Linked DNA regions of Homo sapiens: all the other regions are linked to region 2. Evidence: promoter capture Hi-C in 16 types of primary human blood cells and fetal thymus (Javierre and others, 2016). All regions are on one chromosome and are shown on one strand. The core of a region is centred on a gene start or on the middle of the fragment in contact, and the rest is flanking DNA. Distances in the headings are between cores, read along the strand shown. Region 1 has its middle 6.6 kb from the start of GAS2L3. Region 2 holds the start of TMPO (thymopoietin). Region 3 has its middle 40 kb from the start of CFAP54. Region 4 has its middle 7.4 kb from the start of CFAP54. Region 5 has its middle 30 kb from the start of CDK17. Region 6 overlaps CFAP54 (cilia and flagella associated protein 54).

Region 1 (3,947 bases), core at 1,241-3,740, 2.1 Mb before region 2:
GTGCCCACCCAAAATTCATGTTCGTCGAGAACCTCAGAATGTGACCTTATTTGGAAATAGAGTCTTTGCAGGTATAATTAAGGTAAGGATTGAAATGAGATCATATTGGAGTAGAGTGGACCCCAAATCCAACGGGAGTGTTTTTACAAGAGACAGAAAAGGGACAGAGAGAGAGAGAAAGTCCATGTAAAGACAGAGGCAAAGCTTAGGGCTTTGCTGCCACAAGTCAAGCAATGCTAGGAGCCATCAGAAGCCAGAAGATGCAAGGAAACATTCTCTCCTAGAGCCTTTGGGGGGAGTTTGGTCTGCTGACACCTTGATTTTGGACTTCTAGCCTCCAGAAACGTGAAATAATATAAATGTCTATTGTTTTCAGCTGCCAAATTTGTGGTACTTTGTTAGAGTACCCCTAAGAAACTAATACAATCTATATCTGGAGAGAGATGTAAAAATCTAACAGCCTAGCAAGAATGATTACATTGAGCTACACTCCCTACTCCCCCAGTTCATCTATAAGACGTCTTCACAGATATTAGCATTGTAGCCACGCCAGGCTCTTACAGAGCACAGGTTATTTCTAAATGGCTTACTGTTCAAGTATGATCAAGTTTCTATCACATTTAGTTATATTTGATAGCAAAAAAAAAAAAAATCCTCGAACTCACTTAAGAAAAAAAGGGCAGGTATTGGCTTATGTAATTAAAATCTCAGGATAGAACTCTCTAACTTTAGGCACAGCTTGATCTAAGATTTCAGATATTGTCACCAAAATCCAGTCTCTATTGGCTCTGATTTTCATGTTGACTTTATTCTCAGGTTCCTCCTGGTTATATGATGGTTTCCAGAAGTTCTAGTTCTTCATTCTCTTAGGTTTGAGTCTAACCAAAAAAAAGTGAGTCATTCTATATAGTTCTCAAGTCAGAAAACACAAACCACTATAGGTGCATCAAAAAGCAGGAACTTAACACAGACTTGGTTTTGCAAGAGAAGGTAAACAGGAGCAGGTAAGACAACTCAGAGATTAGCAACAGTAGGAAGCCACTGCAATTCTAGGGCTTAGGGTTCAAAAGAGGAGTTTAGAAACCAGGGCCATCAGCACTGGGGCAGGAGGGAGTTTCCCAGTGGGACTGGGAGCCATGTAGGAGATGCAATCTTTACCAGAGATACAATCTGAGGCAGAGAGAGTGAGGGAGAAATACCCTGGCTTTTCCCTTCTTCTCATCCTCCAGTCTCCCATCAATACTTTCCATTGATTGAAACTGGCCAAAGCCAGTTAACAGAGAAACCTATAAAATGCAGCCTGTCAGGGGTTAGCCCTCCCTCCCTAGATGAACAGAGAAGGGAAGGAAGGGAACAGATCTGAACACAAATAGGATATATTAGCTAGACTGTTGCTGTGATAATGCTGTATCACAAACAACTCCTAACTTTCAGTGGCTTACAGTAATAAACATTGATTTTTCTTGTTTGTCGATCTGCATGTTAGCTCATGGTGGACAGGAGGGATGCTGCTTCAAGCTTAAGTTGGGTTTAGGTGTACTCCTTCTGTCTCTCATTCTGAGACTTGCAACTATCCAGGGCATTCCCTTCTCATGGCAGATAGCAGAAGTGCAAGAGCAGCAGCAGAAACATGTGATGTCTCTTAAGGCCATAGCTTGGAACTGACACTCTCACTTCCACCCACGTGCTATTGCCAAAAGCAAGCCACAAGGACAAGCTCAACATCAGTGGGTGGGGAAGTCTGTTCTGCCTACTCCTGTGAGAGGCACTGCAAATTCACGAGTCAAATAACCTGGCCATATAATTCTACTACAGGGAGAGAGTGAAGAATTTGGAACAATTAATACACACACACACACAGAGGCATGTAACTGACACTGCCTTCCTCCTAAAAATTCTTCCAGCAGTATATCTTATTTTCTTTAAATAAGTCACCTGCCCAATTCTAAACCAATGACTGTGACCTAAGATATGTGATATTCTGATTAGCTATGCCTGAATCACACTTCCAACTCTGGAGCTGGGGGTGGAATCAACTCCACTTAAAACATATGGACTAAGAGATGGGAAGGGGGTGGTTCCCCTGAGGAAATCAGAGTACTCTTCCAGAAGTAAAGGCAGTGGATTCTGAGTGTCCAAAAAATAAGTCAGCTAACACCCAAATGTGATATGTGATAGTGTACTGAATTTATTATTTCACATAAGGGAAAAAATAATAAATTGTAATTTTGTAAAAATCTGGGGAAAAGTAAAATTCTGCTGCTATAGGATCAATGAGTGAAATCAGTTTCTCATTCTGAACAACAAAGAAAGAAAACAAAATTTCAAAACAGTTGCTCATATCCAGTATTTGGATTCACTAATAAAATGACTGTCCACAATGTTGTTATGAACTAGAAAACCACCACCATGAGAATTATGTTGAAGCTAGATGCTAGATCAGGTCAAGAGAGAGTACAGTGTAGGAGTCATATTTTCTTGGGATATGCTATGGTCTGAATATTTGTGTCCCCCCAGAATTCATATGTTGAAATCCTAACCCTTAAATTGATAGTATTAGGAGGTAGGGCCTTTGAGAGGTGATTAGGCCATGAAGGTGAAGCCTCGTGACTGGGATTAGTGCCCTTATAAAAGTGACCCAAGAGAGCTAGCAGGCACATCTAGAAGATGCCATCTAGGAACCAGGAAGTCCTCACCAGACGTTGAATCTGCCAGTGCCTTCATCTTGGACTTCCCAGAACTGTAAGGAATCAATTCCTGTTGTTTATAAGCTACCCAGTTTATGGTCTATTTTTACAGCAGCCGGAATGAACTAAGACAGGATGGGAGAGAGCAGGGTTTCTAAACCTCAGCACTGTTAACATTTTGGGCCAGATAATTGCTGAGGGAGGCTATTCTGTGCATTGTAGGAAGTTTAGCATCATCACTAGCTCCTACCCCCTAGAGGCCAGTAGCACCTCTATCTCCAAGTTATGAAAACCAAAAGTGTCTCCAGACATTGCCAAATGTCCCCCTGAGACACAAAATCACCCCTACTTGAGACCTGGGGTGGAAAGGAAAAGGAAGAAAACAAGCAAACCCATTTCTTTTCCCCTGTCTCTATACTTTCTTTCTCATTTGGTGTAAGAGAAGATAGACCTCTGGGGAATGCATTTTATTTGGAAGCCTAGAATATAGGTAGGGCAGGAGACAAAACCGGTAGGAGGTCTCAATAGCCAACTGCTCTCCCAAGGAGTTCTGGGTCTCTGCTGAAGTCAATGGGAAATCAAGTAGCACAGGGAACATGTAACCAGATTTGCATTTTAGAAAAAAAACTCACTCTACTAGTGTGGAAAATGACCCATAAAAGTGCATATCAGAGCAAGGGAAATACTTCTGTTTCATAGCACTTGTAATTTGTATTTTATTTTTACCCAGAGTTGCTCCTATTACCCCTATCACTCAGGAATTCCCAAAGCTTTTAGAAGCTGTGTCAGAAACCAGGAACAAAAACACAATATGTATTTCTTATAGTATCACAATTAGTTTTCCATGTGATGAGCATTATTGTTTGCTATTACAAGGTCTTAACCACTTGAATAAATGCAGATCTAGAGGATTAAGCTTCTTGCTCTGTCTCCAGTGCCCCACCAGTTCCAGGCTCATTTCTCACTGCTGTCTGCGCAGACGGCATGAGATCTGGAGACACCAAACTGAAATTTACTCCTTTCTTCAATGTCCTTTCCTCACCAACCCTCTCCCTGGTGGGCCTGCTACTTCCCACTTACTCTTCATTAATAAGCTAAATCCCCTTATGCAATAAATGCTGATCTCTGCATTTTACAATGGTGAAATTGAGATTTAGAAAGAGACTGTGCATCCTCCCTCCCTCCCCAGATTACGTATCGTCTTTTAACATCTGTACAACTCACCACCTTCCTTCTGTTGCTCCTGCCACCCCTTTCACC
Region 2 (4,078 bases), core at 211-2,710:
CACCTGAGGTCAGGAGTTCGAGACCAGCCTGACCAACTTGGAGAAACCCCGTCTCTACTAAAAAATACACAAATCAGCCGGGCGTGGCGGCGCATGCCTGTAATCCCAGCTACTCGGGAGGCTGAGGCAGGAGAATCGCTTGAACCCGGGAGGTGGAGGTTGCGGTGAGCCGAGATCTCGCCATTGCACTCCAGCCTGGGCAACAAGTGCGACACTCCATCTAAAAAAATAAATAAATAAAAACTAAAAAATTATAATAGGCGCCTAAAAATATAGTTTAAAATGCTCCTTTTAATTCGGCATGAACCTGTTCCGCCAAAAGATGGCCTGTTGCTGGGAAAAATTAAAACAAACTAGAAAACATAAACGGTTCAAAAAGCCCTCCACACGCAAAAGTATAAAAAGGCGGGAATTTCCTCATTTCAAATTTTGGTTAGAAATTAGAGTGTCATCAGTTGCCCTCCAGGGAGCGCTCTGAGACTCTGCTGCGAGTCATTTCAGTTAATAAAGCGGGAAAACGCTCGAACTTAACCTATAGCATTTTGGGGCCACCCCTCCAGAGCTTTCGAAAGGGCACGGAAGTCCCCGTCTAAACGCCCGCTGCAGGCGGCTGGTGGTCCAGGGAAGCGGCGTCGACTGCGTGCAAAACAACCGCCGCCAACGCAACTCCACACCTCCCAGACCCACACGTCAAAGAACGCGAACCCCGCGGCCCCAACTTCTGGCCTCTCCGCTCCGGCGCCTGCAGCCCCGCGGGGAAGGGGCGACGCGAGGGGGCGCAGGGACAGCCCCGCACCTGGGAGGCCCGAGGGGGCGCCCGGGAGGGAGGGGCTGCAAACGGCGGCGAGCGCGCGCGGCAACCGCCAAACGCCCGCCTTTGTAGCCCCGGCCCCGCGTCCTTACCCTGCCGACGGCTGCTCGGCTCCGGCCCGCGGCGGCGGCCCCAGAGCCGAGGACCGGGGTGGGCTCGCGCTCTTCGTCACTGGAGAAGTCCGGGGGCCCCTTGCTGTTGGTGCCGGCGGGGAGCGGCGGCCGGTTGCGAGCCGTGAGGTGCTGCAGGTAGAGCTGGACGTACACGTCTTTGCGCTGCTCCCCGGCCGGCAGCGTCACATTGTTGGCGACCAACTCACTCTTCAACTTGTCTTTTGTCAGGACCGAGGGGTCTTCCAGGAACTCCGGCATCTCGGGGATCTGCGAAGCCCCCTCCCCACAGCCTTTGCCGCCGCCGCTCACGCCGGCGCGCTTGCTCCTGGCCGGGGACCGCGCTGCCGCCTCCGAGCCTCACGGCTCCTGCCCGGGAAGAGCGCTGCGGAGCGGAACAAAAACTCGCGGACACAAAGCCAAGCCAGACCCGGACACAAAAGACCCCAGAGCCGAACTACGAACCAACTGCGGCCAAGCTGGAAGCTCGCACCAACCCCAGCCCACACACTACAGGCAGGAGGCGAGCAGCCTGCTTCGCCCACGCCCCAAGAACGCGCGCCGCCATTGGCGGGCGACGGGAGGAAGCGCGGCGGTGATTGGCGAGACGGCTCGCGCGGGTTCCATTAGCCGCCGCGCTGAGCGAGAGGAGGTAGAAACGCAGTTTAAAAGGCGCTGGGGCGGGAGCCGAGGCTCCCGGCCCGCTTCTGTTTTCGTTTTCTCCACCCTTCCCCTTAGACGCCGATAAGGGACAGGTCGTACTGCTTTTGTGCGCCGTTTCCTCTCCCTCCCCCAGCTTGAGAAGCAGCTTTCGTCTCTGGGGTCGATCGCCTACGAACGCGCCGAATTCCACGCCAGTGTGAGGACCCTTGGCTGGGCCTTTCTTCCTCCCGGGACACTGAAGCTCCAAGAGTAGCCGCAGCCTTGCCTTCCCCAAACGCTAGCCCTGAAGGGGAAGAAAAGAAGCGAGGCTTGTCTGCAGGCACTCATATTCCTTGATTTGATTTACTTTGGGAGGGGGAGGGCGGGGAGTTACCCCTCTCCTCGCGAACGCTTCTTTTGTTCCAGAAACCCAGGGGAAGCCAGACCTCTACAATCGGGCACTTAAATTACCCTTGAATTTGTGACAAAAGTGTACTATACCATTCACTTCTTAGTGTCATAGTTGGGGCATGTCTAAATTGTTTAATTTGAACAGTGCGTTCAGACGCAAGACAAATTCGCGCTTGCATTTTTGTTGAAACCGTCTCTGGCTTTGGATCCCACCACCCGCAAGAATCCTAAACCTAACGTTTGATAACAAAACGAAGGAGAACCCTTGGGAACCCCCTCAATGGTCAATTTAAAATAACAGATGGTGCATAATCCTAAAGGAAGACTAGTGACCTATAATTAGGCCTAGAACCCTAATCAAACCCGTATTACCGATCCAAATTAAAACCTGGTAGAATCTAATACATTGACTGCAATTAAAATGTTTGCCTGGAAATTAGTATCACTGATGACAAATATTTGTATTTCTGATGAATATGTATGTTTAAAGATGCTTTCTTTCTAGAAAGGAAAGGAGACCTTGGATGTAGGGTGTGTTAATCATTTCCCCAGAATCTGAGCTCCAAACTATGTTTTAGAAACTGGTTAAATTTTTTTTAAATGTTTGCCTGCTTTCTACATTGCTAGGTTAGAATACATTTAAAACAAACGCCTTCACTAAAAATGTTTCCTATGATTTAAGCGACTTACTTTTATTCAAATTGCGATATTATTTCTTTTAGTGATAATTATTTTCCTAGAGGTAACTAATTCCTTTATAAAAATCTCAGTATTCACATACATTTAAGCAATGGTATTAAGCTCAATAATGCAAATTAAAAATCAGGTTTTAATTAGCAAGTTGTTAGGTAGGTTTTTATGATCCCTTGTAAAAGTTGCTTGGTTTTTTGTCCTCACAGCTTCCCTGGACACATAGGCAAATGTTTTTATCTTCAGAAGGGGAACTGAGCTGAGAGGCAAAGGACCATGACTTTGCAATGACTGGTAACCCAGTACGTATAATGCAAGAACTGCATTCTAGATACGCCTGAAATTAATGTTTCCTGGGCAAAAACATTTTCATTATCTTTTTTTTAATCCCTGGACATTAGCTACAGGTGGTTACTTGCAGATTTACTGCTGTAGAGCTCCAAAATTGAGATTACACTTTTCAGATTCTGCGTACCCTAAGGCTAAGAGGTTGGGCTATTGAGTTTGGGTGGTCTCTTTGGTCCTGATTGCTACTTCCAAACCATTTCTGCTCTTTTCTGCTTCAAAAATATTTGAAGTTCATATCTTCTGGCTAAATCACTTTCTACTCTCCTTCCTGCCATCATCCACGAGCCTCCTGGTCACTTTCCAGAAATTATAGAGCTGCTTGCCGTAGGTTTTCCTCACCATCCCTCTTGTCTACATTCTATCTGAATTCAGCATGCTTGTAGGTGACCCATGCAACACCAACACTTGGCCTCTTAGACCTCTGACCTCTTCATCTCCAACAATTTGTTCCTCTCTTGCGTCTTAACCACTTCGGTATCAGTCAGATTCTGAACCTTGTCATCAGTTGAAATCTCAGTTTCAAGCTTCCCAATTGTCAATCACTAGCCTTTTTTTCCCAGCTAATTTATGGTACTCTCACTTACCTAATTAAGACCTCCACGCTATTAACCCCAACACTTAAAAAAACTCAACTCTTCTGCTTCTGCCATCATGTAATAATTTTGCAACTCACCTGACTTAAATTCCCTGATCAGTCCTTTTCATCACTCTTTTACAAACATTTTCAACTCTCTGATCTCAATGTCTCCTTTTTTGCTTGAAAGAATCTCAGCCTTGCTTGGACTAAACCATGCTCCAGCTGAACTTTCTCATTGCTTACATCCAAACAGCAAAAGCTGCTGGAGAAAAGTCAGTCATATAACAAGCTAACTGGTTTTAATTCATGACCTCAGTCCTCTCAGGAGCACTCAACACTGGCTGGCAATGCTATTCCAGTCTCTGGGTTAACCATTCATACGTTCACATCTCCTCAAATTTCACATCCTTTTTCCCTACCTCTCATTTTTAGCTGGTGACCTTGCCTCAACTTCAAAAAATAAAAACCACCTATGAGGAATGCTTCAAC
Region 3 (3,676 bases), core at 1,069-3,568, 2.1 Mb after region 2:
GGAATAAAGCCCACTTGATCATGGTGGATTATCTTTTTGATGTGCTGCTGGATTTAGTTTGCTAGTATTTTGTTGAGAATTTTTGTGTCTATGTTCATCAGGGATATTGGCCTGTAGTTTTGTTTTGCTTTGTTTTGTTTTATTGTGTGTGTGGTTTCTTTGCCAGATTTTGGTATCAGAATGAGTTTTGCAGAATGAGTTAGGGAGAAATCCTTCCTCTTCTGTTTTTTGGAATAGTTTCAGTAAGATTAGTACCAGCTCTTCTTTGTACATCTGGTAGAATTCAGCTGTGAATCCATCTGGTCTAGGACTTTTTTGGTTGGATTCTATTTCATAACTTGTTATTGATCTGTCCAGGTTTTCACTTTCTTTTGATTCAATCTTAGGAGATTACATGTTTCCAGGAATTTATCCATTTCCTCTAGATTTTCTAGTTTGTGCACATAGAGATGTTTGTAGTAGTCTCTGAGGATCTTTTGCATATCTATGGGATCAGTTGCAATGTCACTTTTGTCATTTCTGATTGTGCTTATTTTAATCTTCTCTCTCTCTCTCCTTTTTTTCTTTTTTTTGTTAATCCAGCTAGCAGTCTATCGTCTTGTATTGTTGTTGTTGTTGTTGTTTTATTTTTTTTTTTTGAGACGGAGTCTCGCTCTGTCACCCAGGCTGGAGTGAAGTGGCGCGATCTCGGCTCACTGCAAGCTCTGCCTCCGGGGTTCACGCCATTCTCCTGTCTCAGCCTCCTGAGTAGCTGGGACGACAGGTGCCTGCCACCACGCCCAGCTAATTTTTTTTTGTATTGTTAGTAGAGACGGGGTTTCACCGTGTTAGCCAGGATGGTCTCGATCTCCTGACTTCATGATCCACCCGCCTCAGCCTCCCAAAGTGCTGGGATTACAGGCGTGAGCCACCGCACCTGGCCTGTTGTTGTTGTTTTTGAGACGGAGTCTCACTGTCGCCCAGGCTGGAGTGCAGTGGCATGATCTTGGCTCATTGCAACCTCCGCCTCCCGGATTCAAGCAATTCTCCTTGCCTCAGTCTCCTGAGTAGCTGGGATTACAGGCGCCCACTACCACACACAGGTAATTTTTTGTATTTTTTAGTAGAGACGGGGTTTCACCATGTTGACCAGGCTGATCTTGACCTCCTGACCTTAGGTGATCGTCCACCTCAGCCTCCCAAAGTGCTGGGATTATAGGCGTGAGCCACCGTGCCCAGCCTCAATCTTGTTTATCCTTTCAAGTAACAAACTTTGTGTTTCATTGATCCATTGTATGGTTTTCTTGGTCCAAGTTTGTTTAGTTCTGCTCTAATTATAGTTTTTTTTTTCCCTTTTGCTAGCTTTAGGTTTAGTTTGTTCTTGTTTTTCTAGTTCTATTATGTGTTCTATAAGGTTGTTAATTTGAGACCTATCTTCTGGATGTCAAAGCCGATATTCTTTAGTATTGTACTACACCATTTACCACCATTAACATTATTAACTTTCATGGACTAGTCCCATGCATAGGTAAATGAAATGGTTGACTACATTGTGCAATTAAAAGCTACTGAAGGCTGGTGCAGTGGCTTATGCCTGTAATCCCAGCACTTTGGGAAGCCAAGGCAGGTGGATCACCTGAGGTCAGAAGTTTGAAACCAGCCTGGCCAACACGGTGAAACCCTGTCTCTACTAAAAATACAAAAAATTATCTGGGTGTGGTGGTAGGCACCTGTAATCCCAGCTACTTGGGAGGCTGAGGCAGGAGAATTGCTTGAACCTGGGTGGTGGAGGTTGCAGTGAGCCAATATCCTGCCACTGCCCTCCAACTTCAGTGACAGAGTGAGACTCTATCTCAAAAAAAGAAAGAAAAAAGAAAAAAAGAAGCTACTGAAGGATTTACCTGTCCCCAAACACTGTCTCCACATTCTGCAGTAGTAATAACAGTTATGTCACTTTTTGAGTTATTTTTTCCATAATATTAGTAAAGTTTGCCCCCTATGGGAGATAATACATTAATCCATAGATTAACAAATTAAACTGCAATTTAATAACTATCTATTAAAACTAGATTCCCAGCAGAAGTAGAATTAAAAAACAAAAACAAAACAAAAACCTAGATTCTCTGCAGAAAAATAGGATTAAAAAGAACAAAAACGGCCGGGCACAGTGACTCATGCCTGTAATCCCAGCACTTTGGGAGGCCAAGGTGGGCAGATCACCTGAGGTCAGGAGTTCGAGACCAGCCTGACCAATATAGGGAAACCCCGTCTCTACTAAAAATACAAAAATTAGCCAGGCATGGTGGCGGTCACCTGTAATCCCAGCTACTCGGGAGGCTGAGGCAGGAGAATGGCTTGAACCTGGGAGGCAGAGCTTGCAGTGAGCCGAGATCGCGCCACTGCACTCCAGCCTGGGTGACAGAGCGAGACTCTGACTCAAAAAAAACAAAACAAAACAAAAAACACTTTCCTTGATCTCCCAGTAAGTGGATAGTCAAGCTAGGAGTTGAGTCTATGTATTTAATCATTGTATTATACTTTTCTCTCCTATTTCTCACTCTCGTTTCAGTCACTCCTCATATGACATGCGATTCTCCATCCTTTTCCTGTGACTCACAGTCCAGGTGGTCACTGCTGCTTTTAAACAGAGTCACTGTAGTAGACTGAATTCATTGGGAAGCAGGCACTGAGACAGAGTTTATAGCTTGCAGGATGTTTATTAAGGAGCACCCTTGGCGTCAACACATAAGGAACAGGGCAGGGGAGGTAGGAGCAAAGCAAACCCAAGACATTTTCATAATTTTTATAGGCCTATTAAAGTATATGTTATAAAATATTCATAGCTTACTCTGAAAAGGTAAATATTTTGAATTGACTGGATATATAAGATCAGCTGAAATTTTGCCTACATTAAATTAATCTTGGCCAGGAGCAGTGGCTCATGCCTGTAATCCCAGCACTTTGGGAGGCCAAGGTGGGCAGATCACTTGAGGTCGGGAGTTTGAGACCAGCCTGGCCAACATGGCAAAAACCCGTCTCTACTAAAACTACAAAAATTAGCAGGGCGTGGTGGCAGGCACCTGTAGTCCCAGCTACTCAGGAGGCTGAGGCAGGAGAATCGCTTGAACCCGGGGGGCAGAGGCTGCAGTGAGCCAAGATTGCACCATTGCACTCCAGCCTGGGTGACAGAGCAGGACTCCATCTCAAAAATAAAAATAATAATTAATCTTATGCCCTATTTTTGTCCTCAAATTTGATCAAGGCAAATTCACCCAGAACCCACTATTAAAATGGGACATAATTGTGTTGAGGAGTGATGATCATGGAAACCATTTTACTGATTCAGGCTAATTAAGTAAAAAAAAAAGGGGGGGGGGCTATTTTAACTTCCTCAGATATGTGATATATCTTTGAAAATACAAGGTAAATTCTTCTTGTAAATGTTACAAAAAGGGCTACAGATCCCTTAATAAAGATTATTAGACCTTTATCCATGTACAAGTTCTTTTGTTTGTTAGTTTAATAATGCTACTGCTGGTTGATCAACCAAGCTGTTTTAGGAGCTCCACAGTATATTAGCAAGTCTGTAAAGTAATAGATAATTAGTCCTTAACCAAAAAAAAAAAAAAAAAAAAAAAAAGGAGAATGTCACAGCCCCCACACATCTGTTACTTGTCAGATGTCTATTACAGTGGCT
Region 4 (4,043 bases), core at 540-3,039, 2.0 Mb after region 2:
TCTCCATGTCCAGCCACCTGTAGGTCTGCCTGCTAGGGTCTTCGGGGTTTTTATAGGCACAGGATAGAGGCGTGGCAGGCCAGGGTTGTCTTGGCAAATGCAACATTTGGGCATGAAGGCAGAAGTGCCTGTCCTCACCTAGGTCCATGGGCACAGGCCGGGGATGGAGCCTTCACCAGGGACCATGCCCTTCCTTTCCCAGCACTTCCCTTCCAACCTTCCCTATCACCAGCACTTTGGGAGGCGGAGGCAGGCAGATCACTTGAGGCCAGAAATTCGAGAACAGCCTGACCAACATGGTGAAACCTAGTCTCTACTAAAAACACAAAATTAGCTGGGCGTGGTGGCAGGTGCCTGTAAGCCCAGCTGCTCAGGAGGCTGAGGCAGGAGAATCGCTTGAACTCAGGAGGCAGACTTTGCAGTGAGCCAAGATGGCACCATTGCACTCCAGCCTGGGCAACAGAGCAAAACTCTGTGTCATAAATAAATAAACGCCCAAATTCTGAGGCCAAAGAGCATGGTTTGAATCCTCACTTCTTCCAAGTTACTTAACCTCATTGTGCCCCATTTTCTTAATCCGTAAACCAGGTGCTGGGTTCTCAGGACATATGCAATGAATCCAGTATAACATCCCTACTTCCTTGAGCCTTCCGACCTTTTCTTCAATATGATATCAAGGAAGTTCTGTCATCTCCACTTCATTTGATGTGGAACATTATCAGATCAATGCTTCAAGAAGTCATCTCATTAAGTTATTAGGAATTCTGAATCATGGGTGAGTATTCCCATATTAATGAATTCTACCCTCGTCACTTTTGCATTCTGTGCCCCGGTCTAACATATTCAAGACTCACTCCTACACATGTTCTCTGCAGTTTCAGCTACTACTTATTAGCCAGATCCCACAATTCCTTTGCCATGTAAGCAATTTCTTCTTAGAGCAGAGCTTGTAATTTCCTGCTCAGGCTGTGCTGAAACCTGACTTTCCTTTCCAGCCAGAAGGCAATGAAGTGTATTGGGGGCACATCTTGAGGAAAACAAGTCTCACCATGAAAGGCACCTGCTTCAGATTAGGTCATTATATGTTCCCCCAGGCAAGCAGAGATTGTTTTTCTCTGGCAAATGGTTAGGGGCTATTTTTGCAAGTATAGGGGGCTCAGAGAAATTTAGAGGTTCAAAGTTCTTGGGCTTGTCTACCTAAATGTTTCCACTTCAGGTCTCTCGGCCTCCACCTTTTCTTGGACTTTCTGCTGTATAATCAGATCCTGGACCCGGTCTTTAGCAAAATCTACCCTGCAGCTGTCCTAAGCTGCAGTAGAGGCACTGTCTTTCAGAGCATGCCTTCAGTTGTGAATTAACTGCTCTAAGACAATCAGGTCCCTGTTGCCTTCAGATAGGTGACAATTCAACTCTAAAATCTAATCCTGAGTGTCCAATTTTTTTTCTTTTTTTTTTTTTTCTTTTTAGATGGAGTTTTGCTCTTGTTGCCCAGGCTGGAGTGCAATGGTGCTATTTCGGCTCACCACAACCTCTGCCTCCCCAGTTCAAGGGATTCTCCTGCCTCAGCCTCCCAAGTAGCTGGGATTACAGGCATGCACCACCACGGGGTTTCTCCATGTTGGTCAGGCTGGTCTCGAACTCCCTACCTCAGGTGATCTACCCGCCTCGGCCTCCCAAACTGCTGGGATTACAGGCGTGAGCTACCATGCCCAGCCGAGTGTCCACTTTTTACACCTCACTTTATTGTGTTAACCTGAGTTTCCTAAAAAACAAGAGTTTGAGGCAAAGGCTTAAGTGCTAGTGCTTCACTTAGTAGTGTAATTTCCGTGAAGCAAGAATGAAGAGAAAAGAAAGTGGGACAGGGACAGATGAAAAGAAGTACAATGCCGGCCTTCTTCACATCATGAAGAAACACAACGAGTTGCTCAGTCATGCGGGATGTGTCCCAACAGGCTATCTACATCTCTATATACTACATCTTAGAGGAGTTTGTAAGAGGAAAAGGTAGAGAGAAAATATACCTGCTGCCCTTCTCCTGGTCAAGATTCACCACTCTACTTCCAGGTTGGATCACCTTGCCCCTTCAGCAGCTACTGACGATGCCAAATCTCATACCTTGTGATATAGTGTTTCATCCCAGTTCAAAAGCAGTGAAAGGGCCAGGCACGGTGGCTCACACCTACAATCCCAACACTTTGGGAGGCCAAGGCGGGAAGATCACCCGAGACCAGGAGTTCAAAACCAGCCTGGCCAACATGTGAAACCCCATCTCTGCTAAAAATATAACAATTAGCCAGGAGTGGTGGCAGGTGCCTGTAATTCCAGCTACTCGGGAGGCTGAAGCAGGAGAATCACTTGAACCCAGGAGGTGGAGGTTGCAGTGAGCTGAGATCATGCCACTGCACTCCAGCCTGGGTGACAGAGCAAGACTCCATCTCAACAACAACAAAAACAACAACAACAACAACAAAAGCAGTGAAAGGAACTGGGCACAGTGGCACATGGCTATAGTCCCAGCTACTTAGGAGGCCAAGGTGGGAGGATCATTTGAACCCAAGAGTTCAAGTACAACCTTGGCAACATAGTGAGACCCCATCTCAATATTTTTTTTAAAGTGGTGAAAGGAGCCAAAAACGCCACATAGTGGCCTCAGGTGGTGGAACCAAGCAGGCCAGGATGGGGTTTCTCCAACCTGGAGGCAGTCATCAGAGCAGTTGCTGGAAAGCAGTAAGTGGTAGAGGGCCTAGAAAGTCAGTGAAGACAGAAAACCCAAGGCTTTGCATAAGGTGTGTCTAGTATACAAGTCCTCTTGGATGATAATGCCAGCAACACCCTAAGGAAAAGAGAGCAGCAAGATGGAAGGAGCCTGGATTCCTTCACACTGTGAAGCCCTGGTATGAGTCCTAGACCACTCACCCAACTTACTATGTGAGAGGAAAATAAACTTTCAGCGGACAGGCGCGGTGGCTCACGCCTGTAATCCCAACACTTTGGGAGGCTGAGGAGGGCGGATCATGAGGTCAGGAGATTGAGACCGTCTTGGCCAACATGGTAAAACCCCGTCTCTACTAAAATACAAAAAATTAGCCGGGCGTAGTCATGCGTGCCTGTAATCCCAGCTACTTAGGAGGCTGAGGCAGGAGAATCGCTTGAACCCGGGAGGCAGAGGTTGTAGTGAGCTGAGATGGCACCACTGCACTCCAGCTTGACGACAGAGCAAGACTCCATCTCGAAAAATAAAATAAAATAAACAAACATAAGTAAATAAATAAATAAACTTTCACCTTGTTTCAGGTACTGGGATTGGAGGTTTTCGTAGGAGGTGCCAACCCTTTACTACAACTATTGTACCCTATCACCTAGAAGTTTTATTTCTTGGGCCAGGTGCAGTGGTTCACACCTGTAATCTCAGCACTTTGGGAGGTGAAGGCGGGTGGATCACCTGAGGTCAGGAGTTCGACACCAGCCTGGCCAACATGGTGAAACTCCGTCTCTACTAAAAATACAAAATTAGCCAGGCGTGGCAGCGGGCACCTGTAATCCCATCTACTTGGGAGGCTGAGACAGGAGAATCACTTGAACCAGGGAGGTGGAGGTTGGAATGAGCCGACATCACACCACTGCACTCCAATCGGGGCAACAAGAGCAAAACTCCATCCCAAAAAAAAAAAAAAGAAATTTTATTTCTTGATTTCTTGAAATCAGCTTTAGAAATCATACATATGCATAAAGATGCATATACAGATATATACAGAACATACAGCAGATGTTTATTGCTAACCTTAAATGCTTACAATAGTAAAGCATTAAAAACAATCACTGGGTGCGGTGGCTCACACCTGTAATCCCAGCACTTTGGGAGGCCAAGGCAGGCAGATCACCTGAGGTCAGGAGTTCGAGACCAGCCTGACCAACATGGAGAAACCCCATCTCTACTAAAAATACAAAATTAGCTGGGTGTGGTGGTGCATGCCCGTAATCCCAGCCATTCGGGAGGCTGAGGCAGGAGAATTGTTTGAACCCAGGAGGCGGAGGTTGCAATG
Region 5 (3,840 bases), core at 431-2,930, 2.1 Mb after region 2:
GCAACTGTTACCAGACCAAACTGAGGGCCAGGCTTCTATTTTTCATGGCCCAATAACGAGATGCAGATGAACTGGGGAGGAAGAGAACTTTTACTTCTGTAACTGGTTACAGGGAGAAGGTCTGGAAATTATCGCCAGACCAACTCCAAATTACAAAGTTTTCCAAAGCTTATATACTTTCTAAGCTATATTCATCTAAAGACATAAGTGATGAACTTCTTTTAATCTGTAACTAGGGTCTGAGTCCTGTAGATCTTTTTCTGAAGCCTTAGTAAGTTTACTTAGTCTAAATGGGTCTAGGTGCTGGGGTGATGACCTTTATCTCTCTTTTTTCTTTGAGACAGAGTTTCACTCTTGTCACCCGGGCTGGAGTGCAGTGGCGCAATCTCGGCTCACTGCAACCTCCACCTCCTGGATTCAAGTGATTCTCCTGCCTCAGCCTCCCAAGTAGCTGGGATTACAGGCATGCGCCACCATGCCCGGCTAATTTTTGTATTTTTTTTTTTCCGAGATGGAGTCTTGCCCTGTAGCCCAGGCTGGAATGCAGTGGCACAATCTCGGCTGACTGCAACACTCCCTGTCCTGGGTTCAAGCAATTCTCCTGCCTCAACCTCCTGAGTAGCTGGAATTACAGGCACGCACCACCACGTCCGGCTAATTTTTGTATTCTTAGTAGAGATGGGGTTCCACCATGTTGGCCAGGATGGTCTGGATCTCCTGACCTTGTGATCTGCCTGCCTTGGCCTCCCAAAGTGTTGGGATTACAGGCGTGAGCCACTGTGCCCAGCCAATTGCCCTTATTTGTATCCTGCTAAATCATAAAGGTTTGGGGAGTTCCTTTAGGCCCCAATAAACTTGTTTGTGGAGGCCTGGGGAGTTTCTTCAGACCCCCAATAAAACTTGTTTAATCCTAAAAGGGTCCTGTTAAGAATTGCTTCATTATTTTGTCATGCTTCAAGGCCCAGGAAAAGCTAGCCAAAACTCTTGGTGGGCTTTTGTTACATTCCAGCCTTTGTATAAGGATCCTGGCTCTTTCAGCTTTTAATATTTAACTTAACTACTTAGTCAGTGCTGAAACAGTTGTTACAGAGGTCTGCATCTGTGAGACCAGGCCTACCACACAACCTCTGCCTCCTGGGTTCAAGCGATTCTCCTGCCTCAGCCTCCCGAGTAGCTGGGACTACAGGCATGTGCCACCATACCTGGCTAATTTTGTATTTTTAGTAGAGACAGGGGTTCACCATGTTGGCCAGGCGGATCTCAAACTCTGACCTCAGGTGATCCCCAGTCCTGGGCCTCCCAAAGTGCTGGGATTACAGACAGGAGCCACCGAGCCTAGCCATTACAATCTTTTGGTGTAATGTGGGGTGTGTTAGGCCTCGGGGGCAGGCCTCTGACCTCCTGCCTTCTTCTCCCCTGCTTCAAGGCAGGACTCTAATTCTTCCTGCCCCACCCCCACCTTTCTGACTGTGGGTCTTAGGACTCTTCCCAGAGAGGATCCTGCCCATACCCTGGGGAAAGGAATGCTGACGTCATAAAGGTTCCATAAAAACCCAAAAGGAGGGCCAGGCGTGGTTGCTCATGCCTGTAATCCCAGCACTCTGGTAGGCCAAGGCGGACGGATCACTTGAGGTCAGGAGTTTGAGAGCAGCCTGGCCAACATGGTGAAACCCCATCTCCACTAAAAATACAAAAAATTAGCCAGGCATGGTGGCAGGTGCCTGTAACTCCAGCTACTCTGGAGGCTGAGGCAGGAGAATTGCTTGAACCCTGGAGGCGAAGGTTGCGATGAGTTGAGATTGTACCACTGCACTCCAGTCTGGGCGACAAGAGTGAAACTGTGTCCAAAAACAAAAACAAAAGGACAGAGTTCAGTGAGCTTCCAGATAGCTGAACACGTGGAGGGGTCCTGGTTGGTGGTATACTCATGAAGGGTATGGAAGTTCCATGCACCTTCCTCTATATCTCACCCCATGTGCCTCTGCATCTGCATCCTAAGTCTCTTACTCTGCAGGCAACAAATTAGTTGCCTATTCAATGTTCACTCTATTTCTCTTTCCTTCTTTTTTTTGTGAGACAGGGTCTCACTCTATTGCCCAGGCTAGAGTGCACTGATGCAGTCATAGCTCATTGCAGCCTCAAACTCCTGGGTTCAAGTGACCCTCCTCCCTCAGCCTCCCAAGTAGCTAGGACTACAGGTGCCTGCCACCATGCTCAGCTAATTTTTATTTATTTATTTATTTATTTATTTAGATCTCACTATGTTGCCCAGGCTGGTCTCGAACTCCTGGGCTCAAGCAATCTTTCCATGTTAGCCTCCCAAAGTGCTGAGATTAAGCATGAGCCACTGCACCCAGCATCTCTTTGCTGAACGCTGATTTTATTCAGTATCCCAACCTCTTCCACATCTACTGCTGAGAGCTCCATTCCAATTGTTCTTATTAGTATGTTTGGCAGTGACTGGTTTAGCTATTGGCATGTGGTGCATTCTGGCCAATTAAATGTAAAAAGAAATCTTTCAGGCTGCTTCTGAAAAAGGTTTCCTCCTTTCAAGAGAGATAAACAGAGAGCACCTCTTCCTCTAAAATTGTCCTGTCCAAAGGTTATACATGGAACTGCTGTAGTCTTCTCATAACTAAGGGGGCATTCCTTAAGGACAGAGAAAACAAAACACAGAGTGAAAAAGGCAAAGTTGGGGGAAAAAAAACCTCACCTTTATTGTTGGCCCATCAACATATTTAATCTTGGACATTCCTACCTTTGGACTTTTTGAATATAGTATTATTTATGCCCATTCTGAGTTCAGTTTTCTGTTATTTACAGCAGAAAATATCCTAATGGACACTTTGGCTTCTCTCTCTCCGGTGACTCCCGCCTGTCGCCATTGCAAGGACTTCCTCTCCTTTTAACATCTGTAGCCTTCTTTGAGTCCCAGGATCTCTAAACCTACTTTTTCTGAACATCAGAGAATAACTCCAAAATTCTATTAATTTACTATGGGGAACAATTCCCTTTTGTTTCCATTTCTCCAATCCAGCCTCCAGGGTCCCCTCCTCACCACCTCATTACCAAAAGACCCACTTAATGAGTTTGCTTAAAGAATTCTTTCCCAGAGATTAGACGCTAAAGACCTGGAGTCATACTACCTAAGTGTGAACATCAATTCCACGTCTTGCTAGCTGTGTAAGCTTTGATAAGGCGCTTATTTTTTCTGAGGCTCATCTTCATCTGCCAAATGTCAAATAATTTTTAATTTTTATATAGACAGGGTCTCACTATGTTGACAAGGCTGGTCTTGAACTCCTGGACTCAAGCAATCCTGCTGCCTCAGCCTCTGAAAGTGCCGAGATTACAGGTGTGAGCCAAATAATAATTGAAGAATTGGTGTGAAGCTCAAATGATGTCATCTACACGAAGACCTCATAACAGTGCCTGGCACTCGTAAGCATTCAAGATAAAAATGCTGATTGGAAGTAAAGGAAACCAGATAAAGTAGCAGAAAAGAAACTTTCCACTCTGTGTGCTAGTAGCTTACAGAATGGAAAGCCCAGCACAATAACCAGGCTCAGAAAAGACAAGGACCAGGGTGGCCTTGGGAATCCAAATAGCAAGAAGTAATCTTTTTCAGTCTTTTTGTTTCTCTGCTTGAGATTCAAACTCCTGGGGACAAGCATCTGATTGGTCTGGCTTTGGCTGTGTGTTCACCTCTTATTTGGCTAACGAAGTACCTTGGTTCTTGGAGCACCGGGATCGTCTCCAATAGTGCTCCAAGGCAAACTGGAAATGCTGTCACAAGAAAAAGGAGTAAAGTGAAAAACAAACAACCTAACACCATTGGTT
Region 6 (3,854 bases), core at 1,251-3,750, 2.0 Mb after region 2:
TATCTTCCATAGCATTGTAAAAGGGCCAGTTTGTATTCCTGAAACAAAAGGAGTACTTGATTAAAGTTCCAAAATATCATTTAGCTTATCATTATTAGGTAATATTCATATTATTCCTAATAGTATCAAGGTTGATTATTACAATTATACCATTACTACTGGCTCCATTTTCCAAAAACATAGTATGTGAGAGACACTGCACTATACAATGTATGTGCATTATTTCATCTAATTCTCCTCACAATGAGCCTATGTGAGATGGGACCATCATGACCACAAGGATGAGAATATTTACTATGGCACTGTGCATGGTAATACCTACAAATACTCAAAACCCAGGTTCCAAAATTCAGCATCATCAGATCATGGTAACCCACATACCTAGAGAGGTGGATGAGTAGTCTTGCTTCTCTGATACCTCATAGGCTCGAAAAAGAAAAGAAACGAAGAGCGAGCGAGCGAGAGAGAAACAAAGGAAGGAAGGAAAGAAGGAAGGGAGGGAGGGAGGGAGGGAGAGAGGAAGGGAGGAAGGGAAAGGAAGGAAGGAGGGAAGGGAGAGAGGGAGGGAGGAAGGCAGGAAGGAAGGAAGGGAAAGAAGGGGAAGGGAAAGGAAAGGAAAAGAAAAGGGAAGAGAAGGGGAAAGGAAAGGAAGGGGGAAGAAAGGAAGTGAAAGAGAGAGAGAGAAAGAAAGGAAGGAAAAAAAAGGAAAGGAAAGGAAGAAAGAGAAAGAAAGGGAGGGAAGGAGGAAGGAAAAAATAAAGGGAGGGAGGGAAAGAAAGAAAGAGGAGAGAGAGAAAGCGAGAAAGAAGGAAGGAAGGAGAGAGAGAGAAAGAAAGAAAGAGAAAGAAAGAAAGAGAGAGAGAGAAAGGAAGGGAGGGAGAGAGGAAGGAAAGGAAGGGAGAGGGAGGGAGAGAGGAAGGAAGAGAGGAAGAAAGAGGGAACCAAAGAAGAGAAAATAAAAGAAAAAACTGCAGAGTGAGGTGAGCTACTTGCCTCTCTTTCATCTGTCAACACTCTAAAGCTGCATCAGGACAAATAAAAAGCATCTGAGCAGTGGGATTTTTATTCATTCAAATTCATGCTTATGTTCCCATTACAGAATCAGATGCCCCATTTCTGTAACCCACAGGGCTCAGTTACCTGGAGGGTTTCAGGGCAGGGGACATAAGCAGTGCTTTCAAAATGAGTCACTTGCAACCCTTCCTCAGCTCCCTCCCCCACAACTTCATCCCCAGGAAAAGCAACTGCCCAAGGTTGAACTGGCTGTCCAGTTACCTAGCCCCTTGGGAGGCATCTTCAGTCAAACACTGTTTTGTTTAAATTTCTATTAAAGATTTGTTTTTGCTCACTAATCCTGAATCTTTTCTGCTCTAACTTGAGTCATATAATAAATTCAAATCTAGGTTTAAAAAAAATTTTCCACAAGATGATCTTTACTACAACTAAAATAAAAATAGAGCCTAGAAACCAAAGTAACAAGTTCATTTTCAGAATTATAAATACCTTTTTTTTTTTTTTTTTTTTTTTAGGGACAGTGTTTCGCCATGTTACCCAGGCTTGTCTCAAACTCCTGGGCTCAAGCAAGCAATCTGCCCTCCTCAGCCTACCAAAGTTCTGGGATTACAGGTGTGAGCCACCATGCCCAGCCTGGCCAACATTCCCTTCAGTGAAAAGTAGATAAAACTTTTTCTTTGTTCCTTTAATTAAATATTAAAATATCCTATCTAGGCCTTTCTATCTAAAACATTCTGAATCCTTAGCTACCAGCCATCTTTAACTTGCTTTATCAGCTTCTAACATACACCTCTCTCCTCCCTCCACTAATATCCACTCCACCCACACAGACATTTCTCAAACAACCCTACACTGTGCTTTTTATTTGTATTACCAGCTTCTTATACTGAAAAGTGTAAGGATGGAAAGGGGGCTATCTTGTAATTCTTGTCAAAACTCTTATTCCACTTACATGAATAAAGCTTCCAAGTTGAATCTCACCCAGGTTTCTTTTCTGTAGCTTACCAAGCCCTGTATTTTCAAGTTTCTAAGACCCATGGTCCATTTATGTGGAACTATGGTTATTCTCTAGTTTTGGCAGAAGAAAATAGATCTTAGTTCTTCATTATGAAGTTCCACCACTCATATCCTCTATTTGGTAAATTTGTCTCCCAGACCAAGAGGATTAAAGTCCAGAAAACAGAGAGGGGAAAAATGAAGTTGAGAAACTGAAGATTGAGAAAACACTGAACACTGCCCACGGCTGGCCTAAGATCCCATTGTCTGACGTTCACATAACTTAGAATAATCTGGACCTAGGCCAGAGTTTAAGGGGGAAACTCACATGATCATTAATGGAAAACCCAGCCATGCTGTGGTCTCAGCAAACCAAGTCCACCGGTCCACAGCATTCCAAGCCCTAGACATTCAGGTAGAACTAAAAGAAGGACACAAACTCATTCTGGAATACAATACTGAGCAAGAAACAGGGTATGTATGGAATGACTGTTATAATTACATACAGCAAAACATTAAGAAAGAGTTGAAAGAGTTTAATAAACAGGGCACTGAAGCAAGCAACAGAGCTGCAAGGCCAAGAGCCCTGAAGGTTGACCACTGGGCAAGGCCAGCCATATGAAAAACAACAGGAAGTGGTGTCTGGGCTCCTTTGTATAAGGTAGGAACACGATGATTCAGCATTTCCTGTTGTGTGCCTACCACACCCTCTGTTAACCCGGCCACCCTCCTGCCCATCCACAGCCAGCTGCCTGGCTGTTCAGGAATGTCTCACCTCTGGGAAATCTCAACTACAAAATTAAAAAGCAACACTTTTTTGGTTACTGTGCCTTATTAAAATTTTTATGTACTCATTTATTTTTTTCTAAGAGAAAAATCAAAACATGTAAAATAGGAAGGGTATCAGACTAAATACTGTAATAATAATTAGCCAAATGAACTTCTTTTTGGCTCTTTCCTGCAGAGGCACTTACTTTCATTTGACAAAGGCTATCTCCAACCTTCAGAAGCTTTTCGTTGTAATAGTCTGCTGGCAGCCTGGGGGCGTATTTAGTCCAGATATTAAACAAAGAAGTGGCACTGTAAAAATCATAAAATAAAACGACATTGTCAAAGTCTGCAGGAAACCCCAATTAATTTGCAAGCAATCCTTTAAAACTTACCTTATGCTAAAGCCTTTCCAATGTGCCTTATTGTTAATGTCCAATTATTAATAATAAATGTAATTACAGTTAAAATTATTGCTTCCTATGTACCAAGCATTGATTGCAGCCCTTTACATATTTTTTTTAGATACTTTACTTCATAGAGCAATTTTAAGTTCACAACAGAATTGAGCAGAAGATTCTGAGATTTCCCATATATACCCTGTGCCCCCAAACATGCACAGCCCTCCCCATTATCAACATCTCCACTAGAATGGTACCTTTGTTGTGATGAACCTACATTGACACATCATTATCACCCAAAGTCCATAGTTTAGGGTTCACTGTTGGTGTCATCCATTCCATGAGTTTGGACAAATGTATATAATGTCTATCCACTGTGAAAATATCAGAGAGTAGATTCACTATCCTAAAAATCCTCCGTGCTCCACTTATTCATCCCTCCTTTCCCGCTTAATCTCTGTTAACCACTGATATTTTTACTGTCTCCATAGTCATGCCTTTTCCAAAATGTCATAGTTGGAATCATATAGTAGGAAGCCTTTTCAGATTGGCTTCTTTCACTTAGCAATATGCATCTAAGTTTCCTCCATGTCTTTTCATGGCTTGATAGCTCATTTCTTTTTAGCACTGAATAATATCCCATTGTCTGGATGCATTACAGTTTATTTATCCACG

What was found. The method cuts DNA at HindIII sites, captures the fragments that hold promoters and counts their contacts. A CHiCAGO score of 5 or more calls a contact.
Region 1: a fragment that was not itself captured here is called in contact with the fragment with the promoter of TMPO in region 2 in 1 of 17 cell types (M0 macrophages); the score reaches 6.3 in M0 macrophages.
Region 3: a fragment that was not itself captured here is called in contact with the fragment with the promoter of TMPO in region 2 in 4 of 17 cell types (naive CD8 T cells, total CD4 T cells, non-activated CD4 T cells and 1 more); the score reaches 11.7 in naive CD8 T cells.
Region 4: a contact is called between a fragment that was not itself captured here and the fragment with the promoter of TMPO in region 2, in 1 of 17 cell types (naive CD4 T cells). The highest score is 6.7, in naive CD4 T cells.
Region 5: a fragment that was not itself captured here is called in contact with the fragment with the promoter of TMPO in region 2 in 4 of 17 cell types (non-activated CD4 T cells, naive CD8 T cells, M0 macrophages and 1 more); the score reaches 7.4 in non-activated CD4 T cells.
Region 6: a fragment that was not itself captured here is called in contact with the fragment with the promoter of TMPO in region 2 in 8 of 17 cell types (non-activated CD4 T cells, activated CD4 T cells, total CD8 T cells and 5 more); the score reaches 12.2 in non-activated CD4 T cells.

The regions. Positions count from the first base shown.
Region 1 is chr12:100,565,130-100,569,076 of GRCh38, reverse strand. No RefSeq gene overlaps it. Among named protein-coding and RNA genes, the nearest start is that of GAS2L3, 6.6 kb to the left of the region's middle. The HindIII fragment of the contact is 1,939 bases long and covers 1,521-3,459 here.
Region 2 is chr12:98,512,972-98,517,049 of GRCh38, reverse strand. It overlaps TMPO (thymopoietin), which reads right to left and starts at 1,460. Exons shown (of 9, transcript NM_001032283.3): 1 at 904-1,460. The coding sequence starts at 1,182. It overlaps TMPO-AS1 (TMPO antisense RNA 1), which reads left to right and starts at 824. Exons shown (of 2, transcript NR_027157.1): 1 at 824-1,059; 2 at 1,153-4,077. RefSeq lists a silencer at 701-970 and enhancers at 1,311-1,500, 1,761-1,840. The HindIII fragment of the contact is 4,246 bases long and covers 1-3,538 here.
Region 3 is chr12:96,447,450-96,451,125 of GRCh38, reverse strand. No RefSeq gene overlaps it. Among named protein-coding and RNA genes, the nearest start is that of CFAP54, 40 kb to the left of the region's middle. The HindIII fragment of the contact is 5,525 bases long and covers 1-3,676 here.
Region 4 is chr12:96,480,182-96,484,224 of GRCh38, reverse strand. No RefSeq gene overlaps it. Among named protein-coding and RNA genes, the nearest start is that of CFAP54, 7.4 kb to the left of the region's middle. The HindIII fragment of the contact is 8,484 bases long and covers 1-4,043 here.
Region 5 is chr12:96,428,896-96,432,735 of GRCh38, reverse strand. No RefSeq gene overlaps it. Among named protein-coding and RNA genes, the nearest start is that of CDK17, 30 kb to the right of the region's middle. The HindIII fragment of the contact is 3,020 bases long and covers 171-3,190 here.
Region 6 is chr12:96,500,070-96,503,923 of GRCh38, reverse strand. It overlaps CFAP54 (cilia and flagella associated protein 54), which reads right to left. Exons shown (of 68, transcript NM_001306084.2): 2 at 2,985-3,090; 3 at 1-38. Among named protein-coding and RNA genes, the nearest start is that of CFAP54, 12 kb to the right of the region's middle. RefSeq lists an enhancer at 2,076-3,275. The HindIII fragment of the contact is 1,044 bases long and covers 1,979-3,022 here.